Regions from separate parts of the Homo sapiens genome. Here region 1 is linked to region 2. Evidence: promoter capture Hi-C in 16 types of primary human blood cells and fetal thymus (Javierre and others, 2016). All regions are on one chromosome and are shown on one strand. The core of a region is centred on a gene start or on the middle of the fragment in contact, and the rest is flanking DNA. Distances in the headings are between cores, read along the strand shown. Region 1 has its middle 370 kb from the start of MIR7852. Region 2 holds the start of NTNG1 (netrin G1).

Region 1 (6,567 bases), core at 619-3,118, 390 kb before region 2:
TGTTCCAACTTGCCTCATAAATATAAAAAGAAAAGCCTAGCTTCCATTTTAATTAGATGAAATAATTACATGTCACACATCTCTTAAGCAGTTTTATACTCGCTCTGACTGTGATGCAGGGATTAGCATTCAAAGACGCTGCTTGCCCTGTGTACAGATGTTGGGTTTATAGACTGTCATGCTCCTTGTGGCCACAAGATGTCAGGCAAATATGGTCATGGGATATAGGTGCAGGAAGGTGCCTTGGCTCCTGAAAATACCATTGACGAGTTCATTAGCTGATTAAAATCCTTCCAATAAGCTTGTTGGAAGAACCTAGGGAAAGTCTATGAAATGTGTCATATTGTTATCCTGTTGATGGAGACGCTGAACACGACTAGGAGGTAATCAGATTAAGATCAACAAATATTGATTGTACATGCTTGCACGATTAAATCCTGAATAATTAAAGGCCACTGAGTTTCCTAGCTCTCATCTTAGTGTGTGTTTCCATAAGCAACATGTGCTGTGTTTCCAAAGTACCATGAATAGACATGGCTATAGGAAAGAAATGGGATCAGTCAGAGAATCAATCACTTTTAAAAGTTTCAGTTTGAAAATCTGATGAAATAAAGAAGTGGGTTTTAAGTTAACAGCTATTCTATAATCATGAGACATTTTATAAACCAAAATATATAAAATAAAGCCATACACTGAAACTTGTGCATACTTCTAATGTAGATTTGTTTACTCCATGATTTGAATGATTTGTTAATTAACAGCTGATCTGACACACCACCCCTCACTATTCTTTTAGTCTCTGGACCGACTTTCTATAGAAGCTTCCTTGGGGTCTGGCAGAAGGAAGCAGTAATGACAAGCAAAGGTTGAGCTCAATCGATCTGTGGTTATTGAGTTCCTACAGAGAGCTGGGTGCTGCTGAGGCTGCAGCAGACCTAGAGGGCATGGCTTATGCCTCACTGTTTCTTCCCTTTCATTTATCTCTTTCTTCTAATTTTCTGTGTTCTACTTCTTAACTCTTCAGATGCTTCTTACTGCTAAGCTAGGTGAGGGGATAAGCTTTTATTTATTTACCTTTGAAAACATGCTGATCTCCTACTATGTGCTAGACTTTGGCCTGGAGATTCAGAGACAAATTTTAAAATGGTGCTTACCTTGCTCATGGATCCGGCAAGCCAAAAATCGTATTACAGCAGTATGGCACTGGCAATGCAATCAAGTAAATGTCCTATGGAGCGCACAGGCAAAGGGGGATTCATTCCGCTTGGTCCTGAGGGCATTGTGGTACTTCACAACAATGTAAATTGGAACTCATCAAGTGAACAGGGATGGGGCAGCCTGAAGAATTAGAATATGTGAAGGCAAGTCTGTTCCAGTAAAAGCTAAGCTGCTGTGAGAAAGAGATCTGCAGTACAGTAACTTGAAAAGATAGATGTCCATTTTCCTCTCATATAATAGTCTAAAGGTAGGCAGTCTGGTGGGGCTGCCCTACTCCATGAGGTCATTCAGGGACCATGGTCCTTCCAACTTGTTGCTCCACCATCCTCTAGGCATTTTTCACACTGCTGGAGCATCAGCTGGCTTGCCATTTCCAGCCGTGTGAAGAATAGGGAGAAGTGGTCCAGGGTAAGTTACTTTATTATAGTAAGGAAGGCAGAAATTGCACACTTCTTTATATTTCATTGACTTTGACATGACCACATCTAGCCTCAAGGGGGGCAGGGAAATATGCTTGTAATAAGGTGGTTCTGTACCCATGAAAAAAACAGGAAAAACAAGTTACGGGGGCAACTAGCATCTCGCCACAGCAGAGGCACGTGGAAGGGAATAGTCTGTTGTGGAACTTGCACGCAGTGGAGTGTAGCTGGATCATGGCTCATGTGACTGGTAAGGTGGGGCCAGGATGTGGAGGAGTTTGAATGCTACATTGCTAAAAAAAATTTTAATGAAGCCAGCATGCTGAGCTTTGTGTTTGAGGGTAAGTCACTCTAGCACCTGAGGGTTGAGGAAGCGTTTGGAATGATTAGACTGAAGGCTGTTGTCGTTTTAGGTCCAGGTGAAAGAAGGTGAAGGCTTCTCTCAGGAAAGGAGAGCCAAGGGTAATGGGGAAAGTAGATTTAAGAGACATTTAAGCCAGAACTAGAACTTAAACTGGCTGGTAAGTTTCTACAGGTCACCTCAATTAAAAACTGTTAATGAACCACACTGACAGTATTTTTATTATTAGCAAAGTCTCTTCAACAGAGAACAGGCTAAATGTTTCTTTGACCCCTGCCCTCAGCTTTTGTCAAATGTGCACATTCTAGAAATTAAGGGAGCACAGTGGGGTCTTTATGGTTTAACAAGTTGGGTCCATGTTCACTTCTCATATATTCTCAAGACAATCTTGTGGGTTCGGAACACAGAATAATATGTCAGTACATTAAGAGTGTCTCTGTCATTTGCCCCTCAGGGATTGGGACACAAACCAAGTTCACAGAGACTGATATATATTAGCTAGATCACCAATTTAGTCATCTGTAATTAGAAAAGCTACTGGCAGACAGACATATGTCAACTTGGCCTGCTCTCTGGGGGGCACTCTACATGGGAAGTCAAATTATCAGAAGATTGCTTGAGGGGTGTGGAACTGAACAAGGGGAATTATACATTTGAATATTAAATGGTGTTAAGCTTCGATAGCTTCATGCATTCATCTCCAAGGTGGGAACGTGGCTGTCAGGAACACTAACTTCTTTGTTTGGACTTACCAGGCATCTTGTCCTAGACAAATCTAAGAAGAAATTTCCAAACTTGGAAACTTCGGCATTTCCATCAGTATAACCACATACTAGGGGGTATTTATAATTAAGCACCACACATGGAGACTCTGATAAGCACCAAGACCCCCCTGCCCCAATGTGAAAACTGTTGGGAGTATGGTTTATTCTGGAGAGGAGCCAGAGGAGATCAAACACTGAGAGATCAAAGACTGACTGGGGCTAGCAAACGTTTTCTCCAAAGGGCTAGAGAGTAAATACTTAGGAAATGTAGACCACATGATTCTGTCATAGCTACAGAACTCCATCATTGTAGCACAGAAACAGGCTTAGACAATATGTAAACAAATGTTCCAATGAAACCTTATTTACAGAAACAGGCAGCAAGCTGGACTTGGCCCACAGGCCATTGTTTGCTGACCCCTTGAGATGCCAGTCCTAGATTATCAGTTCACAAAACCTTTCTCCAAAGAGGATTCAATACTATTGATTTTTTTTCTACTGACTAAATCCTAATTATGTTCAAGTTTGCCATCCCTGGGTTTGCTCCTAGATCACCCTGACTAGAATTTGGGGTGTTTCTAAAGCTATAAGGCACAGATAATCTCTTGGTTTACTCCCACAGATATGTGTCACATCTACTGTTTGACTAGTTGAAGTTTTCAAAGCCCATCTTATTTCTCTCCAAGTTCCAGGGTAGCAACTCACTCTGTATCTATGAATAAAACCCATTTTACAGACGAGCAATCCACCTTAGAGTGACCCAGGTGAGTGTCAGAGCTGAGACTGGATGTCAAGTCATCCACCTGCAGGCCCAGCATTTACTCTACTTGGTCATATTTTCCTGGGTAGATTCTAACTCTGTAGGCTTACAATTTGGACAGGGAGGTAAATTAATTTAGCTCAGTGTAATGACAACAGAGAAATGTGGTAGTATGGGTATGGTAGAAAATGATTAGGGCTTGGGGGCTGTGAAAACAAACAAAACTGAAATGTAAACCTGAGCTCACTGCCTAACATCTATAGCAAACATGGCCTTTCTAGAACAAAGAAAAGAGGTGATTTAGTCATTGAAGCTAAAGGGGTTTTATATGACTGTGTGTTTGGATTTAATCTCTATACTTCATTAAGGATGCGGTGGTGAACAATGTCTGCTTCCCATCGTACTGATGAAGGGCAATGAGACCAGAAATATCCTTCAGTCATCTGTGAGTGGCTTTGGGTGTTGCCAGGCTTGGCAGATGGAATTCAGAAAAATGTTGATTTATGTGTCCCTCATTGTTACAGCAGTGGTATTATAAATTGGATGTCCTTATTCTGACTGGTGGCACTCCTATGGTACCCTTCTTGACCCTAAGCCCCACCCCCTGTAGAAATCAACTGCTCCCTCTTCTCTGTAAGTCTGGCTCCAATAAGGCCTACAACACTTTAGGGATTTGTCCTTTTACAGGTCTCTTCCTCTCTTTCCTTTGAAGGCAACAATTAGGTTGAGTCCACCTAGCATAGGGTCTGGCCCTGAATAGTCATTCTATAAATATTTGATGAGAGAAAGAGAGCTTCCCCATGCAACTTACCCCAACTTCCATCTGTGTATACACTCTCTGAATAATAAGCGTATGGAAAGACTCACCTTTTCTTTCCTTTCTCACAGTTAGTTCTATTCCCCTTTGCATTGGGTCTCACCAAGTGCCAGGCAGTGTTTTTAGTGCTTTGTGGGCCTTAGCTCCCTCAATCCTCTTGACACTACTCTACACCTTACTGTATGTCAGCTCAAGAATTTGGCAGTTTGGGTTGAGATTCTGAATTCTCTGCTACTCCATTGCGCAACTTCCTGTGTGACTCTAAATGTCTTACCTTCCTACTCTATGAAATCATCAGAGAAATGATAGCACTCAACTCACAGGTCTCATGAACTTTAAATGAGATAATGCTTGTTAAGTGATTAGCACAGTTCCTGGTACATAGAGCTCTATCTATTTTAGCCCTTCACAAAGGAGAGTCTGTTGTCTTTCAGATGTTTTATACTAAAGAATGTAATTACCTACTCAGCACCCACTTCTCTCAGTAGAGCCAGGAATGCACCCCATAGACTTGTGCTAGGAAGAGCCACAACTACATGGAAATGACTGTGGGAGACAGAGAAAAGGAAAAAAGAGGAAGGAAGAATGGCAGGGCCTCTCTCTGATCCCAAGGAGAACAATAAATATACTATTTGCAGCATTCTCTGGACCTCAAGCATGTTTGTGATTGGCTGAGAGTCAGATTGGATTCTCTCTGGTAGTGGATTGCGTGGCTTTCCAGACATCGCATAACATAATGGCAAGATTACAAATGTCTTACTTGGGTGGTTAAGCAGTTGATCAATAATTATTTATTTCATACCTAACAAATCACTGTCCTGAAAGAATATGTCCCCTCCCTTAAAAGTGGTCACACATAAGCTTTTGTTATAACGTTAACAAGAGTGGACTGGGAAGTGGTCCCTGTGCACATGAGGAAGGAACGGTTTCCTGCCAGAGCGACTCCAGGGTGCAGTTCATGGGCCTGAGGCAGATTGTGGAGAGGACATGATGACAAGGGCAAGACATTTCACCACACTCAGGTCTTCTGACACATACCATTCAAATGAAAATGAAAACCATGACAAATTAAAGAAAATTAAAGGCTCTTCTTCCTCCTTCCCCTCACAAGATGCTTTCTGTGGTGCTAGGACCAATCAAACAGATCAGAGAGGTCAGCATTTTCCACTTCCAAATATACACCAGAGTCACATTCATGAGGAAGCAGGCTGAGTGCTTTGAAAAGTTGCAGCACCCTGAGCAGGCTCTGAGAGGAGAGGGTTTTGCACACACATCCTGAGGACAGGGACTTCCCAGGACCTCATCCCTACTCCTTCCATCTCTGATTCCTGTCAAATATACACCACTTTCCTAAACTGTCTCTTGCAAGTGAAAAAATCACCCTTATATCATATGTGGGTATTGTTAGGAGGAAGTATGCCTCCCTCTCAGCTGTATAGTTGTTTGCTACAATATGTTATAAATAAATAATATTTCTATAAGAGAAAAGAAGACAGAAGGGGGAAGGACAACGTTTGTCAGACAGAATGTGTGCCAGTTAGGAGAACCTGAATTGGAATGTTAACACGGATTAAACAGGAAAACATGCTGCTGGCAAGGAAAACTCAAGTATAACCGGCTTTGACTGGGTGCTGAATTGGCGTTCACCAGGTAGCCAGCCTTTGAATTGAAGGTGGTTGCTGTCTCAGGCAGGGGGCATGAACAAGCTCCAATTAGTGCTGCTTTGACAATTACAGGCAGCTCTGTGGGGGAAATCATTCCTGCAAGTAGACAATGCAGGATTAAGGGAACCCTGGATCTCTTTGAGAAGTATCCATGAGGGAAAAAGCAAAACAAAAGATATTTTAGTAACTCTAATAGTAATAAACTGGTAACAGTTTGAAAGGCTTAGGTAGTCCCATAAATCTCAGCATCGGAACCATATGCATCCATCTTCATCAGCTCCTGACTTCTGTCTAGGGATGTGTTCATTCATTCGTTCATTCATTCATTCAATGAAAACGTAATGAGTACCTACCATGTGCCTCTTGAGCTACGTCTTTGAGTGAGATAGGCAAAGGAGATGAGGGCAGAAGATAAATAATGAGCATATTAAGTAAGGGACGTCCACAGTCTCAAAGATAAGTATGAAGGCACGAAAACAAAAAAAATAAAGTGAGGGGAATTGGGGAGAAATAGTTGACATTTTAAACACGGACAGGGTGAGCCTGATAGGAAAGGTGACATTT
Region 2 (6,669 bases), core at 1,267-3,766:
TGGTTTTCAAAGTTGAATCCAATTTTCTTTTTTCCAAGTGACTTGATGCCTTTGTAACTAAAACTCTCCAAATTTTTATGACACTTAGAAATCCTATCAAATAAATGTGTAATGGTTTAACTTTTTAAACAAATTACCTGAATATTTTTCAGAATAATAATGGAAGCAAAAATAGGTATTTGCACCACTTGCAAATATACAAAAGGAAACTGCAAAATACATTTGCCTCCTCCTAAAAAGGCTAACCTGAATCATTTTAACACATATACCCATTGAAAACTGACAAAACAAAAATATTAACAGGAAACCAGCTTTATGTTCAAATAAACTGTTTCCATGCAAAAGTTTTAAGATTATCCGTCTTAAATTCCACAGTAAGGAAATACCACCAAATTAGTAGTGCAGTATATAGAATCCTGAATGCCTTCATGGTGGTCTTCAGTGGGTGAAATATATCTCATTTCACGGCATCCAGAAAAGAAAATATATCCCTGGAACAACATTACATGTGAAATACTTGATGCACATTTTTCCTTGCATGTTGATCCACATGCAGAGATCCAAATTTTATCTTAATGAAAAATCGAAAGTTGCTTATCTTCAAAAAGAATCTTGGACAGTTACTGAGCTGCTTTTCCTTTGCCAAAGAGAAAGGGAGGCGGGTAAGGCATTCAAAGTGACACAGTTCAAAATACTTAATGAAATGTGGAATTGCTAATTCCCTCACTAGAGATCCTCCTCAAGGGACAAACAAAACAGAAAAGCCTCCCCTGAAAAAAAAAAAAATTATTTTTTGGAAAACTTTCCAACAAGCTTAACTACTAAGCATATCTGAATAAGTGATTTTAATGGAAGATCTTCCTGGGTTTTTTTTTTTTTCATTTCTGTAAGATAAAACAACTTTTAGTATTTTCAGTCATAAAACAGGGCCTTATTTCTAGAGCAATTCTACTGCCAGATTCACCATATGTTTAGTGGAGTTCTGAATCTTACTCAGAATTTTCCATTCCAAAGATTGACAATTTGTTATGAGGAGTGGCTCCATTATTCCCTGTATAAAGAGAAGAATGGGTGAGAGAGGAGGACCGTCTACTCACTGGAAATCTGTACCTGATGCAACTATAGGAGCTCAACCTGCGACTTTTCCAAGTAAAGTTGCTTTAAAATCCCCGCTAGGAATTTTCTTCCCTTGCCCTGTAAGATGACAGCCTACTCTTAAGTGGATTTCTGAAGGAAAAAAAAAAAAAGTCCCCGGGTGAGGGTACTAAAATTAACAGCAGAGGGCGCAGTTTCTTTTTATATCTAAGTTTTTCCTTGTATGAATCACTTAATTGGTTATTTTAGGCCCAATAATATTCAGTATTATTTGTATTATATATAGATATCCACAGATCCATACAGGAGTGCAATTCAGTGTCCCTAGCCGAATCCATCAACCGATTAATATGATGCCAGTAAAGAATATGAGAGAATATTCCAAACAGCATCCCTACACCAAGTCTTCCTCTTTCAATTTCCCTTTCTCCCCAGCTGCACAACATGGGATAGTAATGTTTTAATCTAGCACCAATAAAGGCGATTAAAAGAAGGGACTTCAAAAGCTCTCGATGTGGCCACCAGATCCCCAAGGCCGGCAATAGGGCAAGTGTTTTTTTGTTTTTTTTGTTTGCTTTTCCCCAAACAAATATAATTGGCGAAAGAAAGAAAAAATAACGACAAGCCGCCTGAGCGATGTGTGTGGCCAGGTGTGCGTGAGAGAGGGAGAGCGCGGGGCCCCTGTCAGTCGGCGGATGGAGGCTCAGACCCCACGCCTGGGCTCCGGACACAACAAGAGGACGCATCACCGGCCCGGGGCGCACCCCCGGGAAGACTTGTGTGTGGGTGTGAGCGTGTGCCGCTGTGTGTGCGCGTAGGGCTCCGCGCGCTGCCTCCTCGGGGCGCTTTACAAAGTTCCTCGCCCACCCGGAGCCTTCCCTCCCGCCTGTGCATCGCAGCGGGTGGGGCGGGGGGCGGCGGGGGGTGGGGAAACCCGGGGGAGAGGGGCACGGGCGAGAGGCTCGGGTCGCAGTAGGAGAGGCGAGCCGCAGGCACTTACCGTGTGGCTCGTTTGCCCTTGCGCCGGGCGGGAGCCGAGCCGACGGCGCGGGGCGGCGGCCCTGCGCAGCCAGCCTGGTCCGCCTCGGGCGGCGGCCGCAGCAGCGGAGCCCGCGGGCGGCGTACGGGCGGAGGGCGGCAGCTCCCGCGGAGCCTCCTCCCCAGGCGGGAGCGGGCGGAGCGGGAGGGGTGGGCGTGAGGACCCGAGCCGCCGCCACCGCCGCAGCCCGGGGATTCCGATCGCGCCCGGCCGCCGGCGGGAGAGGACCCCGAGGACCGAGAACCCAGCGCCGGCCCGCCACTCCCCGCCGCTTAATTACCTTCGCCTCCGCCCCCGGGGGGAGCCTCCTGCAAGTCGCCCCCTCTCGGAGCCCGCACCCAGAGGGGGAATTCCTTCCCGTTGACGTCCTCTTCCGAAATGCAAAAGATCAGTGACTTTGACAGGTAGATGAGGGGGAGGGAGTAAGGGTGGGCGGAGAGGAAGAGAGGATGAGAAAGGTGCCTCTCCCTCCAAAAATATAGTGATATTAATAATGAGATCTCAGCCTTCGGAGGTCGTGCCAGCCCAGTCCCCTGCTCGCCGGCTCTCCTCCGCGCCTCCTCGCTCCGCTGCCTCTGACACTTCTCGCCTTAAACTTTTACTGAGGGATATTTTTTCTTTTTTCTATTTCTATTTCTTTTTTTTTTCCTCTTTTTTTTTTTTTCAAGCCGCAGGACGATTTTCTGGTTCCCGGGGATCAGAACCAGCGGCCAGGCGGTTCTATGCCGCTTGGCACCGCTTTCATTTTATTTCAGATGAAGACGTTGAGCTTAGTCAGAAGGGGCATAAATCAGGACAATTAGCATTGGCGCCAAGAAGATCCTCTAATACCAATTTCGCCCGGGTTTCCTTCGCGCATTCCTCCACTCAAGTCAGAAATGTCACTGCACATAGCACTGATGGCAGTGAGACGCGACGCACCCAAAGTCCGTTTGATGAAATATACATGGCCCACGACGCTTCTGGATTGCGGCTCCCGGACTCCCCGCCCCCACCAGCGGCTCCCGGCCGGGACCCTGCTCCGAGCGGGCAGCGAGCTCCTGGCAAACTTAGGGGCCAGTGCCAATTAAAGAGTGAGCGCGAGAGCCGGAAAGAGGAGCGGCAAAGAAGCAAGCCCGGGGAAGCCGCAGCCCTCGGAGGGGTGGCATGTACGTTTCACTTAAAAAGCAGATCTTCTTCTGCAACTGCCAGCAAGTGGAAGGATAGCAAACCTTATACTACCTCGAGACCTGTGCGCTCCGAGCGGTCCTAACTCCGTCCCGCTCGCTGTTGCTGTTGCTGGTGCTGCTCCGGCTGCAGCTGCTGCCGCTCCACGACCTCGGGGCGCTGAGGCAACAGGGCCCCCTCCCTCTACTCCCCATCCCCCCCGGCTCCTCCACAGAAGCGCCGTTTCCAGTAACTCCTCGTGTACCTCCCACTTCTGCCGCCGTCCATCCCACCCCTCTCTCTTCTGTCCCCTCCCCAAACCGTTCCCAAGCACACCCTTCGCCGCTGGAAGTGATCACAATGTTGTTTTTCAACAAGCACTTCCTTTGCCCGGAGGCCCCTACAGCCCTAGACTGGAAACTCCTCCTTTAGAAATTCATTCCCCTTTAAAAAGTTGAAGTTCAAGGGAGAGCTGCGCATTTCAGGCTTCCTTGCCTTTTCTAAGAGAAAGACAAATGCTCCGATGCTCCAGGCTTCATTCCCCACCAAGGCGGGCTCAGACTCACCTGGGATCACTCTTAGCTACACATTAACGTCAAACAGAAACAAATCCGAATTTAGATAAGATAGGGAGACTTCCATTAGAAAGAAAGACTATTGCAACAGGGAAAACGCTCTGATCTCAGAAATCTGCAAACCTCTCAAAACCAAACAGAAATCGGCCTTTTTTTTCTATATATATAAGGGGGAGCAAGCAATAGGCAAAGCCAAGTGGATGGGGGAAACAACTCACTTCAAGACCCTCTTGGTTGAACAAGAAATGTGTCTCTGTGGTCCAAGAATTTGGAAGATAAGCTAACAATGGTGAATGTTTCACATTTTAGTTCTTGCTCAGATTTGGGGGGCAAGCTAAATTCCAGGGACCTGCTGGAGAGAAGCCTGACTCATGTTTGGTCAAGGCAAAGTGGCGGGTGGGGGGGGGGTGGAAGAAATGGGCAATTGTGAACACTTAGTCACTATGTGTCCCACAATTAAGGCAGGAGGCTGAGTAATTGGGTCATTTTTCTGTGATGACTGGGGGTGGTGTGGTAAAAGGATGGATGGGGGAGAAGTTTGTTGAGTTGGGCCTATAACCAGGCCCTCCTTGGCCCTGGGCAGCCAGGAAGTGGGCAGGGATTTCAGGCACCCCCAGCCTTCCCTCTAACACCTAAGAGGCCACAATAAGTCGCCTTCGGAATCTCTGAGTGCAGGAATCTGGGATTCATGTGCTTTCCTCTTTCCCACCTTTGTCCTGTAGTGCTGACATTGCAAAAAAGAGTTACCTGCAGGGCTGAAACTCCTACCAAGGGTTCTTAGACAGTGGCCAAGTCTGGCTCTTCCCCCTGTCTCTAGCCATGCTCCTCCAGGTTTAAAACATACTGACTATATGGAGATGTTACTCACCACCTAATCCTCCTTCACAGGCCCTTAGATCCCAGTTCTTTCTATGGGAGCCCTTTGCAATAGGATATAATAAACAATACCAAGAGTGGCCTTCTTATTTCTCGTTGGCCCCTTGGCCTAGATCCTGAAATACAGACAGTTCTCAGCCTTTCCTCTCTCTTGCCCTTCTCTCTCAAGCCAAGAAAGCCTTTCTGAACTCTCATCCTCTGCTTTATCTGGTCATTTAAGGCCCTTCTGTAGTAAAAATAAAATAAATCTATGCAGAGATTAGAGAACTCTCTTCTGGAATATACCAAGATCTTTGTGATTTTGGCTCCCAACCTGGAAAAATACTTGTTTTCATCTGTCAAAATCTTGGAACTGACCTCCCTTCCTCTCTTCCTGTATCATCCCTCATTCCCAGGATTCCTTTGACTATGAGGCAATCCCAAGTAAGTGTGATATGTAAATGGGAACCTCTCCAGTTAGGTAACACCTCCCACTACAGGAGTGGGAGAGTCTTTCAGAGGTGAGTTTTTCTGTGGAACATGTGCTCTGACCTTTGCAGAAGCTCAGTGAATCACCAACTAAACATGTGGATCTAAACTCAAGGAAGTAAATCAGAATCATCAGAGACTTTTCAACATTAAAACCCCTTCCCTTCCAGATCTTGTTCTCTCCTCCAGCAGCAATCAGGTGGTAAGGACTTTTTCTCCAAAAAAGCAGTTTAAGTGGATTTGATATACTTCCCCAAACTAACGTGCATATATTAAACCAGCTTTCCTCAATATACCTTTGCATATTTGTTTATATGATATACACTGATCAGAAATTGACTTTAGAGTTTTCATTGCCTCCAAGATAAATCATTTAGGGGATACCTACCTTTTCTTATCATTCTTTGCTTTTTCTAGCCATATATATATTTAACTTTCTTTGGAAAAAACTATTTTTCCGTTTTTATTTAACCTTTCAACTCTACTTTTTTTTTTTTTCTTTTTCCTTTTGGAGAAGAATGGTTTGATCTTTCAGTTCTCTGGCTTTAGATCTTTGGCTGGTTTCTACACATTCCTCATTCTTCTTCAACTTAGATATCCATTTATTTGTAATCTTGTTAGGTCTCTAACTGTTGTTCATTTTTCTAGGTTCTTAGCTGCCTAAAAATCTTCTCTTTAGAGATTTGGCAGGGTTGTTTCAATATTTGTAACTTCAATATGCCGAAGTGGTAGTGATGGCATATTTGCAATATATCTGGTCCAAAAAGAAATGTGTCTTTTTTATAAATACTGTAAAATACTTGACATAAAGTAGGTGTAAGATAAATGTTCAGTGCAGGTGTGAATAGCTTTAGCTTATTCTCAAGATTCATGGCCTCTTTGGTAACAGGAGCTAACTCTCACCATATTAAATTAATATGTAGATGTCTAAAATATCCAAATCATGGGTGCATTAGACATTCTGGGGTGCTGTAACAAAGACCATAGATTGAGTGGCTTTAAAACAATAGAAATTTATTTCTCACAGCTCTAGAGACTGGAAATCTGAGATCAGAGGGCCAACATGGTCAGGTTCTGGTGAGAACCCCCTACTGGGTTGCAGGCAATAGACTGACTCCTTGTATTCTCACATGGTGGAAGGAGAGCTAAGGAGCTCTCTAGGGTCCCTTTTATAAGGGCAGTAATCCTACTCATGAGGGCTCCATCTTCTTCTTAACTTAGTTATCTCCCAAAGGCCCTACCTCCTAATACCATCACATCAGGGATTAGGATTTCAACTTATGAATTTAGTGGGTATGGAAAAAAACATTTATTTCATAACAAGGACCAAGTTCTATTTGACCAATTGTATACTATGTGGTAGATGCTGTTTATAACTGCTGCTTGTGTCCTAATAGAAACATCCTTCAGCTCTTTCTTGCCTTCACTTTGTGCTCAGGGACATGTTTTACTACAAAGCCATTAGCTGTA

What was found. Contacts are between HindIII fragments. The CHiCAGO score rates a contact against its expected background, and 5 or more counts as called.
Region 1: a fragment that was not itself captured here is called in contact with the fragment with the promoter of NTNG1 in region 2 in 1 of 17 cell types (naive B cells); the score reaches 5.6 in naive B cells.

What each region holds. Positions count from the first base shown.
Region 1 is chr1:107,523,369-107,529,935 of GRCh38, reverse strand. No RefSeq gene overlaps it. Among named protein-coding and RNA genes, the nearest start is that of MIR7852, 370 kb to the left of the region's middle. The HindIII fragment of the contact is 1,614 bases long and covers 1,062-2,675 here.
Region 2 is chr1:107,136,886-107,143,554 of GRCh38, reverse strand. It overlaps NTNG1 (netrin G1), which reads right to left and starts at 2,516. Exons shown (of 8, transcript NM_001113226.3): 1 at 2,415-2,516. RefSeq lists silencers at 1,822-2,101, 2,122-2,411 and an enhancer at 2,345-2,876. The HindIII fragment of the contact is 6,022 bases long and covers 816-6,669 here.